Linked DNA regions of Homo sapiens: region 2 is linked to region 1. The links are contacts of gene promoters, found by promoter capture Hi-C in human tissues and cell types (Jung and others, 2019). All regions are on one chromosome and are shown on one strand. The core of a region is centred on a gene start or on the middle of the fragment in contact, and the rest is flanking DNA. Distances in the headings are between cores, read along the strand shown.

The links. The method cuts DNA at HindIII sites, captures the fragments that hold promoters and counts their contacts. A contact is called where the count stands out against the background at its distance.
Region 2: a fragment that was not itself captured here is called in contact with the fragment with the promoter of RBFOX1 in region 1 in 2 of the 25 tissues and cell types used here (H1 embryonic stem cells and dorsolateral prefrontal cortex).

The regions. Positions count from the first base shown.
Region 1 is chr16:6,015,199-6,022,142 of GRCh38, reverse strand. RBFOX1 (RNA binding fox-1 homolog 1) reads right to left here and starts at 3,119. Exons shown (of 16, transcript NM_018723.4): 1 at 2,151-3,119. The HindIII fragment of the contact is 10,336 bases long and covers 1-6,377 here.
Region 2 is chr16:5,855,907-5,862,850 of GRCh38, reverse strand. It overlaps a transcript of RBFOX1 not described here. Among named protein-coding and RNA genes, the nearest start is that of RBFOX1, 160 kb to the left of the region's middle. The HindIII fragment of the contact is 5,009 bases long and covers 747-5,755 here.

The sequences.
Region 1 (6,944 bases), core at 1,870-4,369:
AGACAGCAAGTCAAATGCCACCAACCTATATCTTGGCCAGTGGGTGGGCAGCTTGTCCGTGATCCTCCTTGGAACATGCAGAGAGCAGAATGGGAGAGCTTGAGGCTTCTGTTCCTTACTTAAAAGAAAACGTGTGTGTATAAGGCAAGCCACCTGCCTTTCCTGTACCACTCGGTGCTACAAGGCTCAAAAATTAGAGGAATCTACTTGAAAGAATAAAGAAACAAAACTCATAGAATTCAGGCACTTACCATGTGCCAAACTGTTCTAAATGTTTAGTGCTTTAAGTAATTTACCCCCAAACCCTCTGAGGACAGAACTACGACTGAAACTCTGATTTTACAGGTGACAACCCGAAGCTCAGAGAGGTAAAGCAACTTGCCCAAGGTCACACAGCTGGCAGATAACGGATCCAGAAGCCCTGTGCTCTTCTGAGCCATAAAGCTCCACTCTCTGGACCCCTAAGGTGTCACTTCCACTACCGCGAGGAATGATGACTTTTCTTCCTAACCCGAGGCAACCATAAGCTAACTTAAGGAAAGCCCAGGGGATTCTTCCAAACGGAGGGCCTCCCTGACGAGCTCAAAGAGGACACAGGTTTTGAGTCAGCCCCACTTTTTACCAGCACAGCCACTGCCAGCACCACCTTTACCCTTCACAGGCCCCAGGTCCTTTGCTTCTGAACATAAAAGATCTTAGCTAAAAATAAATCTGCCAGTAGCTCCAGCCGGGGCCTCTGTGGTCACTTAAAAATTGAAAGAATCCAGGCCCTCTCATCTTTTTTTTCTCTCTTTTGTAACAAAGATAAAATGATAAATGGAGGGGAGATGAACTAGGACAGGGGGCAGGGAAGGGATGGCAGGCTGGGGCATGTCCTAAACTTGGGCTGTCAAGGCCAGGCCTCTCTGCACAACGGAGTTTAAAAATAAAAATAAACAATCATTATTCTAATAAAGGAAAACCCAAGTTAGGAGACATGATGTTTCAACTCAACAAAGCTATTTCACCACACTCCCCCACTTCTTTTCAAGTTCAACTGAAAAGATCCGCCTTTGGGGTGCCAATTGCCCGGACTGCCTGACCAGGATTTCCAAGCTCTTCAGTAGCCGCACCCCAGATGTTCCAGTGCCAGCAGGTGCACCCCAGCTCTGGCCCACACAGGAGCGATGAGCTCTCCCAGCCCCCTGACCATTCCCTGGCAGCAAGGAATGGAGCTGGGGGCTCCAGGACAAGGTTAGATCGGGGTCTTCCCCTCCCTTGCTGAGTGGACAGCTTCCGGGCTCCGCGTGACACCTGGTCCCCGCAGCTGGCGCCAGGGAGGCTCCAGGAGCTCACAGCCAAGTGGCCTCCTGGGCGGTGGGGAGATGGGAGCGGCGCCCCACTAGCCCCGCCCTCGCTTCCATAGCTGGACAATTGGTTGATTGGAGCTGACAAGCCCCCCCCTGGCCTGCACAACAACACAGGGCTAAGATCTGCTACCCCTGTGTTTCCTTCTCTGGGGTGAAGGTTCTCTAAGGCTCCCAGGAACCAGGGGCACAGTAGGAGTTTCCCATTCGCAGGTTTCCCGGCTGGCCCCCTCCCCTGGGGTCGAGGTGGCACCGCGGGGCATCGATTCCAGTGCCAGTAAACACAGCGGCGCTTTCTCCACATAAGTGAGCCTTCTCTTCCCCTCCTCCCACAAGGGGTTCGGGGCACCTAAACACCCTCCCGGGTCACTAAGATGCCTCCTCCTGCACACCCTGCGGGCGGAGGCAGCGGTCCGGGGGCGCGCTGAGTGCACGCTTGCAGCCGGCCAGGGAGACTAATCAAAGTGCGCAGGCAGGCTCCCGCTGCTCCTGGCACCTAGGACTCGCTCCCAGGAGGACGGACGAGGTAGCCTGGATGCTTCGGAGGGGCGCTCTGGGGCAAGGAAGGACGTGCTTCTGGAAGCGACGCACAAGGGGGCTCAGGGTCTCGGCCTCCTGGGGGTAGGGGGGGACACGCCTCGAGATCTTTCCACACACCCTGAAAAAGTTCCCGTCCAGAGCGCCCAGACTGGCGCTAGGAGGAGGCCAGTTCTCGGGGACCTAGCGCTTCCCTCCATGAGACCTTCTGGACCTGACCCACCAGGTCAGGGTGGGTGCAGAGGCAATGACTCCGCCTGGACTTACCTAGAACTCCCGGCGAGCCCGGCTGCGGTCACGTTCTCGGCCCCAGACCCCCGAATTCCCGTGCGCTCTCTGCACCCCCAGCCACACTCACCATAAGCTGGAGGCGGCGGAAGGGGGTGCTGGTTTCTCACGCACTGTCCGCAACTTCGCGGGCAGGTCAGCCCCGCCCTGGCGCGCCTGCCTGGGCGCGGCGAGGGTCCGGACAGGCGGGGACCCTGGCGGCCACTGGGTGGGGGTCTGGAGCGCAAGGACTCTCAATCCCGGGCGCGCGGTCCGCTCCTGCTCTCTCTGCCTGGGCAAGAAGCTCGGAGTTCTCCTGCTCCGGACGCCGGGGCGGGGCCCACGGCTGGCTGTCCCCTCCAGATGTGGGGTGCTCGGCTCGGCTCACTCCTTCCTTCTTCAGCCCCGGAGGCGCGCGCGTGGGTCCAGCCAGTGCCGCCGCCTCTGCTGTTCCCGGGGCTGGCAGAGCGCCCCCGCCCCACCGCGGGTGCTGCTGGGGGGCTGGGGCGGAGGGGGAGGGATTCCCCTCCGCGAGTTCGGGTTTCCCCACCCGACGCGGCCCCTGGGCTCCGTCCGCCGTCCGCCACCCTCCGCGCTGCTTGGAGAACCACTTCAGGGCAGCGCAGCCAGTCCCACCGACTCTGGCTGGAGGAGGCGGCGGCAGCGCGGCTCGCACGGGGACTGGAAAGGAGGTGACCTTCAAACCCCGCGCTCGGGAGACCAGGAAGGGGGCTGGGGTGATCGAGGGAGCGGTGTGTGCACCCAGACGGCCAGCAAGAGCGCTTGTAGGAGGGCGGGAGAGAATAAAGAGGAAATCTTCCAGTAAAAATATAGATTAGAAAATAAACAAAGGAGAGCCGGAGAGAGCGCGAGAAAATGTGTGCATGTGTGTGTGTGCGTGTGTGTCTGTGTGTGTGTGAGCGCGCGACAAGCAGCGAGCAGCCCCGGCTGCGGAGCCAAAAATAATCTGGTGCGCGAGGGAGCGCCCCCTCCCCCTTCCCCTCGCCAGCGCCGCCGCCGCCGCGGTCACGCGTGCAGCCCTGGATTCCAGCGGGCGGCGGCGGCGGACACGCGACCCGGTACCCTGGTCTCCTGGCCTAAAGGGGACAGAGGGTGAAAGTTGGATGCTGGGGCAATGAGCCCAGGACTTTCACCTGCGCCCGTCCTCGTCCTGGTAGTCCCCAGGTGGGCTCACTCATTGAGCACCAGCGCCCTCCTCCCAACCCCAATCAAAGTAGACAAATCCCCCACTAGAGACGCCAAGTGGAGGCAGCTTCTTGCCCCAGTCCATTTCTTCTCTGAGGAAGTTTTCTGGCAAGTCTTCAAATCTTCCGGCCAGGCAGAGATCGAGCCCTATCCAAGATTCAAAAAGTTCTCCAGGCTGGATGGGATGCAGGGCTGGGGTGGGTGCGGCTGGCCTGGGACGCCCCCACCCCGCACAGCTGGGCCTCTCCTGTCCTGCCCCCTTCCTGGCCACCTACTCCCGCAATGGACGCTGAAGGGGTCTAGGGATTGTCCTCCTAGCAGATGTCTTACAGCCAGAAGCCCCATGACGCCTTAATACACACTAGCACTTAATAAGCATTTACTTTCCACCAGATGCTGTTTTAAGCACTTTACATGGAGTCTTTTCAACAACTGGAAGTAGATACTGGAGGTTTATCCATTTCACAGATGCTTAGAGAGATTAAAGCAATATTTCTCCCTTCCTGGGTCCCACTCTGGACTGGAGTGAGAAACTCTGCTCTTCCCCTACCTTTTCCTTTCCCTCCCTCCCTTCCTTCCTCCCTCCCTTTCTTCCTTCCTCCTTTCCTCCCTTCCTTCCTTTCTCCCTTCCTCTTTTTTCCACAAATATTCCAGGGGGTTTTGTTGTACAATAAAGTCAGTCTGAGGTTCAGTGAGTTGTAATTTGTTCAAGGTCACATAGCTGGCAAGGAACCAGGACTCCCCAGGCAGTCTACCTCATTTTATGTGGCACCACCCTGCCTTCTGAAGGGCAGGTGGCATTGGACAAGGCCAGATTCCAGCCTTGAGCACTTGATCTGAGGCGCCTGTTCATTTTCCCATCCTGTGATGTGACTGTGTTTGCACTTATACCATGGATCCTCTTATAAGAAATGCTGTAAGCTTTCCAAAACAGGGGGCCATGTGATGTGCATTCCTTTGTACTAGATGTACGTGTATTTCCTAGCGCCCATCAAGGAGCAGATTCCTTAAGGGTTCCTCTTGCAATCCTATCGGGCTGCGGTTTCTTTCAACCTCAGAATAAAAGAAAGGGAACTTCTGCCTATAACTATATTACTTTTTAAAGCACGCAATATTTAATCATCATTTGAAAAAGTAAGTTTGCAAAATCCAGAAAGATATCTTTATCATTGGTCCCAGCGATTTTGCAATTTGGGTTGATTTTTACCATATGTTTCCTTAGGATTCTCTTTGATAATAATATATTTGTATGTAAGCAATTTTTTTTTCTTTATACTAGTCTCATCCTTCAGTGATAGCAAAATGAAACCATAAATCTGGGTTGGTAACATCATAATCATTTCCCCCAGAAACTGTTCACAATGGGAAAACCGCCGAATTTAAATGTAATTGTCTAGCCATGCAGGGAGATGAGATGGGTTGTAAAAGAGGTATTCTCAATTTAAAAGCAAATTATCAATAATGATAGAAGAAATAAATGGCAGTTAACGGGAAATTCTGTTGGAATATACTGTTTTGTGCAAATTCACCAACAGGAATTGTTTGTCTATTCTCCTTCATTTTTTATTCCAGAAAGGAACAAATGAATGCAATCATTCAAGGCAGTAACATCAGCTGTTGTTACATTAAAATGGGTAATTGCTGGGCCCTTTGATTATTTTTAATACATATATATATTTACCATTGGAAATAAAACATATTCATCTATCTGAAAATCAAGTTCAGCTTGAGTCTGCTCTGATTTATTTATTGTAGAGTAGAAATAGGCTTAGATAGATTAGTGATGAGTGTCAGGCATGACTCACTGGTACCTGTATTGCTACATGGCTTAAGAATATGAGTGTGAGAGGCATCCATTACAATTTAAAACAAAATTAGAGTAAAGATCAATATGGCATGCCATTATGCTATTCATTTGGAAAGTATTAGTTTCTTTCTCACAATGACCTTTCGCATTCCAAGTAGAGTTTTTCCTGTCATTTCTCCATGTTGAGCCACTGGAAGATAAATGAGAGGTGCTGAAGTTGACAGCTCCCAGGACAACCTAGGGCCAAGAATCGCCCTGCTATGGTTAGAAAGAACCTGGAGACTTTGGCTCCTCCTACTGGACATGAAAAATACTTTCCAATTTGTGATCTAAGCAAATGTCAAAAATGGTACCTTTCATAAAGCTGGTTTAAAAAGAACAAGGACTTTGTAGCCTTGTGCTTGGCTGAGAGCTCTCTAAAGTGTAAATTTCATCATCTTACTTTAAAACTTAGGATCTTCCTATAGCTCTTCATTATTCCCCAGGATAAGGTCTAAAGTTGTCCATGTGGTTTACCAGCTCCTGGCTCTTTTTAAGTTCACTCTGTGACCCAGGAGGGCTTTTCTCTTGTTGTATCCAATCTTTTGTATATGTTGTTCCTCCAACCAGGAATACCCTTACATACTCTCTTTTCCTGGATAGCTTCTGTTTAGTTTTTAGATCTCCATTTCAATATCACTTTCTCCCTGCCAATCCCTCAACTCCCTACCCAGCCCCCCATAGGCACAGATAAGGTGTTCTTGCGAACTCCTCTAACACCTCCATTTACCTTTACCCTGTCATTTGTCTCAGCTTACTGTAAATGTTGTTCTCTTCTATTAAACTAAAAGGTCTTTACATCAAAGATTTGTTCCCTGATGCACAGCACCAGCCACATAATAAGCTCAATAAATGATAGGTGAACCTTCCTTCTTTCCTGCAGTAGATTGCTGTCTAAATGGGCTAACCACTTTGGAATGAAATGAGAAGTCAACCTGCTCATCCATTTATGTAGTCCTTTGTTCTTTCAGTCATCAAACATGCATCCTTCTTGAGGCTAGTCCCCCATGTAAACCATTTAGTATATAAACTAGACTCAATTTCTGCACTCGAGAAGCGTACAGTCCAATAGCATATGCAGACACATAAATGAGTGATTGCAACTGTCTTGAAACATTTGGCCAATACGGAGCAGGAGCCTATAGCCAGATATGGCAGAAGGGCAGAAGGTCAGGCAAAGCATTCTAGAGAAGATCGTGTCTAAATAGAGAAGATAAATAGGAATTCCACAGAGAGTTGGGTGATGGATATTCCCGAAGGAGAATACAGCTTATGAAAGTGCCTGAAGCAAAACAGCATAGCTCCTTCTAGGAACAGCAAATCTGTTCAATATAAATAGAGTCCTGTTGAAGTTAAGGGGCTGGACAATGGTGAAAGAGCCAAGAGAGTAGAAGCTGGAACTAAAGATATGGGCTAGGGAAGGCCCAAGGCAGGCTCTGAAATGATTTGTAAGGCGTATTTGCTTTACCACAGGCAGTGGAGAGTGACTGGTTAGCTTTTCAAGATGCACCATTACCATAATGATTTCCACTGCCAGTGCTCTGGGCTTCACTCTGCCTTCACTGATGTTTCAATGACCATTTTCTCCATTATTATCTTATATTTGTTTAATAACTTTTCCAGAAGGTCAGTGTAAACATCCAGTGAATTCCAGGGATTTGTAGATTACTCCAGAGTACTCTAGGATTTTTAAGAGATTATCAGTGATATATTAAACAGAATAGGAAAAGGATGAAAAAAGC
Region 2 (6,944 bases), core at 2,002-4,501, 160 kb after region 1:
TATGTGGTGTGTGCCTTCCATGCTGAACAGCGTGGGGCTACCCTGTATAACTTTTATAGGGTCGTGTTAGGTCTCTTTCGGAAACATGACACAAAAACAACTCAAAATGGCTCAAGCACAGGAAGGAATTTATCAGCTCATTCAAGGGATAGAGCTCACTTTAAATGGATCCAGATAAGGATCAAAGAGATTTAATTACTTCCCTGGCAAGCAGTAGAGCTGTAAACTGAACCCGGTCTCTATCATCCTAGACAGCGCTCCCTGCACAGCTCTGCAATGCTCCCATCCAAAAACCCTGACACGCAGTGGGTGACTGTCTGCTATTCCCTGGTTGGACATTATCCCTTCCCCTCTCACTGATTGATGCAGGTCACCCCATCCCTGCCTCCAGTATTTACAGTAGGGATGGCTGTGCCAACGGTGCTACAAGCGACCCGCCAGGCAGCAAGACTGAATAATCACACCCCTCCCTCAAGTGCCATCCCTGGTAGGCCTCCAGATTTCCCTCCCCACCAGCAAATGACACACCACGGTGCCGGACCGGGAAGGCTTTAACTGTGACGTCAGTGCATCTTAACTTAAACTGGCATTCCAGGTAAACACGAGGATCCGTGGCAGCATTTGGGTGATTACTTCTGTTGCTAGTCATTCACATGAAAATCTTAGATCCCCAAACCCTGAAGGAGTCTAGCAGGTCGTCTTTGCCAGACTGTCTCTGGCTTAGATAGAACTGACTTATGGAATGGTCTGACACCAGCGTATGAAATGAATGACACACATGTGGAGGTTTTTGAGCTGTAAGGACACCTCGGCCAGACACAGAGAATGGCCGTCACTCTCAGGCCTGAGAATTCCTGTCCTCTCAAGTCCAACTCTGTGTAAAACTTTAATCTCACGTACAGTATAAGACGCATCTCCTCCATTCCCCCCACAGGCAGCAACCAGAAGGACTAACTGGGGAGAATGCATGGTCTTTTCTTTCCTGACCTCTTTCCCCTTTGGTTTTCTGGTTTCATCTGTTCTGCCATTGCGTCTAAGAAGATGGGTTCAAGAGAAAGGGCAACAACATCCTTTGCACTTTGCAACAAATGAAATCATCTGCTAATGCCTCTGGTGATCAGGTGAATTCCAATAGCAACAAATGCCCTGTGTATGAAAGATGTCCAAATGCTGGCACCGTCATGGGGCATGGGTGGATTAGGGGGAGTCCTATGGGTGAAGGCTGCTTATGTTCGTCAAGGATATCTAAGCTACAGTTGCAAATAGAACCAAATGCATAACAGCCCAACACAATGGACATTCATTCCTTTCTCATGTAGGAGTCCCAGGTGGGAGAGCAAATTGAATAACAGATCTCTTCCACGTGAATATTCAGAAAATCAGAGTGAAAGAGGCTCTGCTACGCTTAAGATGTGACTTCCAAAGCCACCATCATCATCTTTGTCCCAATCTGACAGGAGGAGAATGAGTAGTGGTTTTTAGAGACCACACCCAGAAGCAGCATGCATCATTCCAGCTCACATTCAATTGTCTAGAGCTCAGTCACATAGTCACCTGTGTGGCACGGGGGTGTAAGCATGTAGCCAACCGTGTATCAAAGGGGAGAAGATGGTTCTGGTGAACAGACCCAGCTGGCTGCCCACACATCCCCACTGAAGCACTACTTTGTACAAGATCCTCCTACATGGTTCCATGATAGGAAATCCACTTCTGCTCAACCTCTCCCAAACTCTCCTGGTGATAGAATGCTGGCAGTGTGACTCCATCTCTTGACACTGAGATTGTTCACCTTGCAGCTGGTTCTCTCTGGTACACCAGCCACAAAGCTCAAACCCAGTTTCTCTTTGGTATCCCTTTAGCCTTCAGGAAACTCAGGTCCTCACCTAGCCACAAAAAGCGAGAGCAAAGCAGAGAATGAAGCTTTCTCTCTCCTCCATTCCTTTTTATCTCCACCTGCACAAATAAGCCCAGAAGAACGACCATCAAAGATGCTGCGTGAGTAGATCAGGGCCTCTTTTTGCTGGCCTCCCAGTATCTACAAGAGGAGCCCTGGAGCTTGGCTTTTTTCATGATGTTGTGGAGAAGGACGTTGACCCATGACTCATTCTTCTCTCTCTTCTTGAATCCTCTCTGATCTTCTGCTTATATAGACTAGTGGACACTAGAAATAGCACAATTGCCTTGTCCTCTTTTAGCCCTGGGGAGGTATCTGGACCTCACTATTTTGGAACTTATCATGCATAGCTTATCTCTGCAGGCAACTTTGCGTCCTAATGATCCATTTGGGGATAACAGGAAACACTGCATTCCCCTTCTCCTCTACACAGCCACCTTGACAAATGGGAGCAAGCAACAGGTTGTGAGTTCTTAAACAAACTGAGTCAACTCTTTTCTTGAACCAATTTGAATCTCTAGACTGTTTTCACAGGCACAAACAGAAAACCTTATAGTCCTATTGTCAAAAAGTGGTGAAGTAGGCCAGGCGCGGTGGCTCACGTCTGTAATCCCAGCACTTTGGGAGGTGGAGGCGGGTGGATCACGAGGTCTCCTGACCAGCCTGACCAACATGGTGAGACCCCTTCTCTGCTAAAAATACAAAAATTAGCTTGGCATGGTGGCATGCGTCTGTAATCCCAGCTACTCAGGAGGCTGAGGCAGGAGAGTCACTTGAATCCAGGAGGCGGAGGTTGCAGTGAGTTGAGATCATGCCATTGCACTCCAGCCTGGGCGACAGAGTGAGACTCCATCACAAAAAAAAAGAAATGCTGACAGTGTCCACTACTGTCTACTGGGCTGCTCTCTGGGCACCCACAGCTGAAATGTCAGAATTTTGACTATCCTAAGATAGCCTTGTTGCAGAGGCTACATCTAGGTGCTTTGGGATCAGTCCCACGGGAGCCCAGGCTTCCAGTCTTCCTGACCAATGTGCCAGTCAACTGAATTTCACCAAGAAACCTGAGTCAACTCATGCCCAGCAGGCGCTGCCTAGATTCCTGACCCACAGTATCTTGAGGTATAATAAACGGTTACTAAGTTTTAGGGATATTCTGTTACATGACCATAGATGATGACAAGTGACTTAGCCTCTCTGATTCCATAATTTTATACCTGTAAAATGGAAATAGCATTTTATAAGACTGCTGTAAGAAGCAAAACAATATGTTCAAGGTGCCTGGCATGGTTGCTGGCCAATGGTAGGCAGAGTTTTATCCTCCCTGTCACAAAACCCTGGGCACCTATGCTGTTCTTTGTGATTTTCCACTGTAAACTTTCTTCCTTTGCTGGCAAGTGATTTTCAGAACCTTCAACTTGATCTCCAGCTGGTAGAATGTGTAAGGACAAAAATGCCTGATCTTTATACGTCCTTACTCTACCATGGGAAAGTTACCTTACCTGTCTGAGGCTCAGTTTCCTTATTTAAAAAGGGACACAAAAATCTTTCTTGCTGTTTTATGTATATTCAATGGGAACGTCTGGCTTAGAGTTGGAGATTGAGAATGGATAGCTGTGGTTTTGTGAGTTCAAGGTAATCACTGTAACAGTAGCAGAAGTCCTAACATCTGATATTATGAGCCCTACCACATTCAACAGAGCCACTTGCAAACAGCCCACCTACAGGGTTGTTTTTGTTTTTGTTTTTGTTTGTGAGACAGAGTCTCGCTGTGTCGCCCAGGCTGGAGTGCCGTGGCGTGATCTCGGCTCACTGTAACCTCCACCTCCCAGGTTCAAGCAATTCTTATGCCTCAGTCTCCCAAGTAGCTGGGACCACAGGCACCCACAATCATGCCTGGCTAATTTCTGTATTTTTAGTAGAGATGGGGTTTCACCATGCAGGCTTGAACTCCTGATCTCATGTGATCTGCCCACCTCAACTTCCCAAAGGGCTGGGATTACAGGCGTGAGCCACCAGACCCGGCCCCAAAGGGGTATTTCTGAAGTAGGCAGCTTCCCCTCTCCCTATCTCTTTCTCTTCTATTCTGGCCTGGGACTTGGTTCCAGCCACTGAGCCGCCAGGACTCATCTTAAATTTTAACCATAAGTGTAAAAAAGGAAAGAGCCCATTCATGGATGATATTCATCTCCCTACCTCCCTTCCCATCTCCTACCAAATTCTGCAGGCTCCAGACATGTCCAATGAATAAATGTCTCTTAAAATTCTTCTAGAAAACGCACAAGGTTTCTCTTAATAACTCTCACTGTCAGGAATGAAATATTTACATGCACTTGCTTGAAAATTCTGGCAGCTTGTAACCTAAGAATAGTTTTACTTATGGTGCTCGGCAACTGCCTTAGGTCTATCTTGCAGACGATTTTGAGAGGAGCAAGAGGCAGAAGAGAGGAAAGAAAAAGTCACAGGGGAGGGAGGGACTGATCAGGGAGGGCCTGGCAAATCTCTGTCCTTGGTTTGCCCTTGAAGTTGGTCTATTAAGGAAGGTTAAAGCAGTCACAGTGCCGGTTTACAGGGAGTCTGAGCTGTGACAAGCCCATCAGTCACCCTGACACATGGTAGAAAACACGGGGAGATTGCAAACATTATCTGAAGCTTAATTATGAAGAAGGGAGGAGCCTGGGTTGGTGTGAGAAGTGGGTGCTGAGGCTCTCTGGGCCTTTCCCATTGTAACCTGCTGTCTTTGGGGTAAGGTGTCACCATCTAAGTTTCCTTCTAAAGAGCCCCTGGTTACTTTCTGCGGCTAGGTGCAAGGTTAGGAAAAGCTCCTAAGAGGGAGCCTTTAGCTTGCCAAATTTAGCTTGGCAATGTGGAAATACAGACAAAGATCCTTAAAAACCCTCCTTTCCACTGACCTCATACCTCTGCTTGTGGAAGTCTCTTCTACATATTGGAAATACCACAAAAAGCTTATAGCACAAAATGATATTTTATAACATTTCTTTTTTTATTTTTTGAGACAGGGTCTCACTTTGTCACCCAGGCTGGAGTACGGCAGTGCAAACACAGCTGACTGCAACCGCTGCCTCCCAGGCTCAAGGGATCCTCCCACCTCAGCCTCCCCAGTTAACTGGGACTACAGGCACTCACCACCATGCCTGGCTAAGTTTTGTGCAGTTCTTTTCTTTGTTTTTTTTTTCCTTGGTAGAGACAGGGTTTCTCTATATTGCCCAGGCTGGTCTTGAACTCCTGGGCTCAAGTGTTCTGCCCGTCTTGGCCTCCCAAAATGCTGGGAACATTTTCTATAATGGAAAAAATAGGTAACAACCTAGCTGTCTAACAACAGGGGATTCACTCAGTGTACTGGGGAGATTTGGCAATGTCTGGAGGCATATTTGGCTGTCACAGCCAGAGGTGGGAGGTTATTACAGGCCCAGGTCATTTTATTGCACTTCATTTTATTATACTTCACAGACACTGCTTGCTCTTTAATCAATTAAAGCTTTACGGCAACCCTGTGTCAAGCAAGTCTATCAGTGCCATTTTCCCAACAGTGTGTGTATACCTCATGTCTCTGTGGCACATTTTGGTAATACCTGCAATATTTAAAATTTTTTCATGATTATTACATCTGTTACAGTTATCTGTGATCAGTGATCTTTGATACTGCTATTGTAATTGTTTTGGAGTGCTGTGAACTTCTCCCATAGGATGGGAGGTTTACCTGATAAATGTAGTGTGTGTTCTGACTATTTCGCAAACCAGCTGTTCCCCATCTTTCCCTCTCTCCTCAGGTCTCCCTATTCTCTGAGACACAATAATACTGAAATCAGGTCAGTGAATAATCCTACCATGACCTTTAAGTGTTCAAGTGAAAGAAAGAGTCACATGTTTCTCACCTTGAATCAAAAACTAATGATTAAACTTTGTGAGAAAAGCATGTCAAAAGCAAAGATAGGCCAAAAGCTAGGCCTCTTCCCCCAAACAGTTATCCACGTTGTGTATGCAAAAGAAAAGTTACTGAAAGAAATTTAAATTGCTACTCCAGTGAACACAGGAATGATAAGAAAGTGAAACAGCCTTGCTGATGATATGGACAAAGTTTCAGTGGTCTGGATAGAAGATCAAATAAGCCACAACATTCCCTTAAGCCAAAGCCCAACCCAGAGCAAGACCCTAACTCTCTTCAATTCTATGAAGGCTGAGAATGGTAGGAAGCTGCAGAAGAAAAGCTTGAAGCTAGCAGAGCCTGGCTCATGAGGTTTAAGAAAAGAAACCATCTCTATAACATAAAAATGCAAGGTGAAGCAGCAAGTCCTAAAGCTCCAGCAAGTTATCCAGAAGATCTGGCTAAGATTATATATATATATATATATATATATATATACACACACACACATACACACACACACACACACACACACATACACATATATGAATGAGAGATGTTGGTCAAAATGCACAAAATTTCAGTTACGTAGGATAAGCTCTGAGGATCTCATTAATGCATAGTCTTGTGATGACAATGAACAATACTGTGCTATATACTTGATATTTCTGAAGAAGTTGATCTTATGTGTTCTCACCAAGCACACACAAATCATAACATTATATATATATATATATAATATAACAGTTTTCCCTATATATATGTGTGTGTGTGTGTGTGTGTGTGTGTATATATATGTGTATATATATATACATATATATACATATATATACACATATATATACATATATATATACATATATATGTATATATATATATATATATAGAGAGAGAGAGAGAGAGAGAGAGAGAGAGAGAGAGAACCATAAAGACTCCTGGAAAAAAATTTAGAAATAATATACAAATTCAGTAAATTTGCAGGATACAAAATCCACATACAAAAATCAGTTACATTTCTATACACAAAGAATGAACTACTGGAAAGAAAATTAGGAAAGTAATCTTATTGACGATAGCAAAAAAAAAAAAAAAAAAAAGAATAACATACATAGGAATAAACTTAACCAAAGAGTTGAAAGACGTGTACATTAAACATTAACAAACATT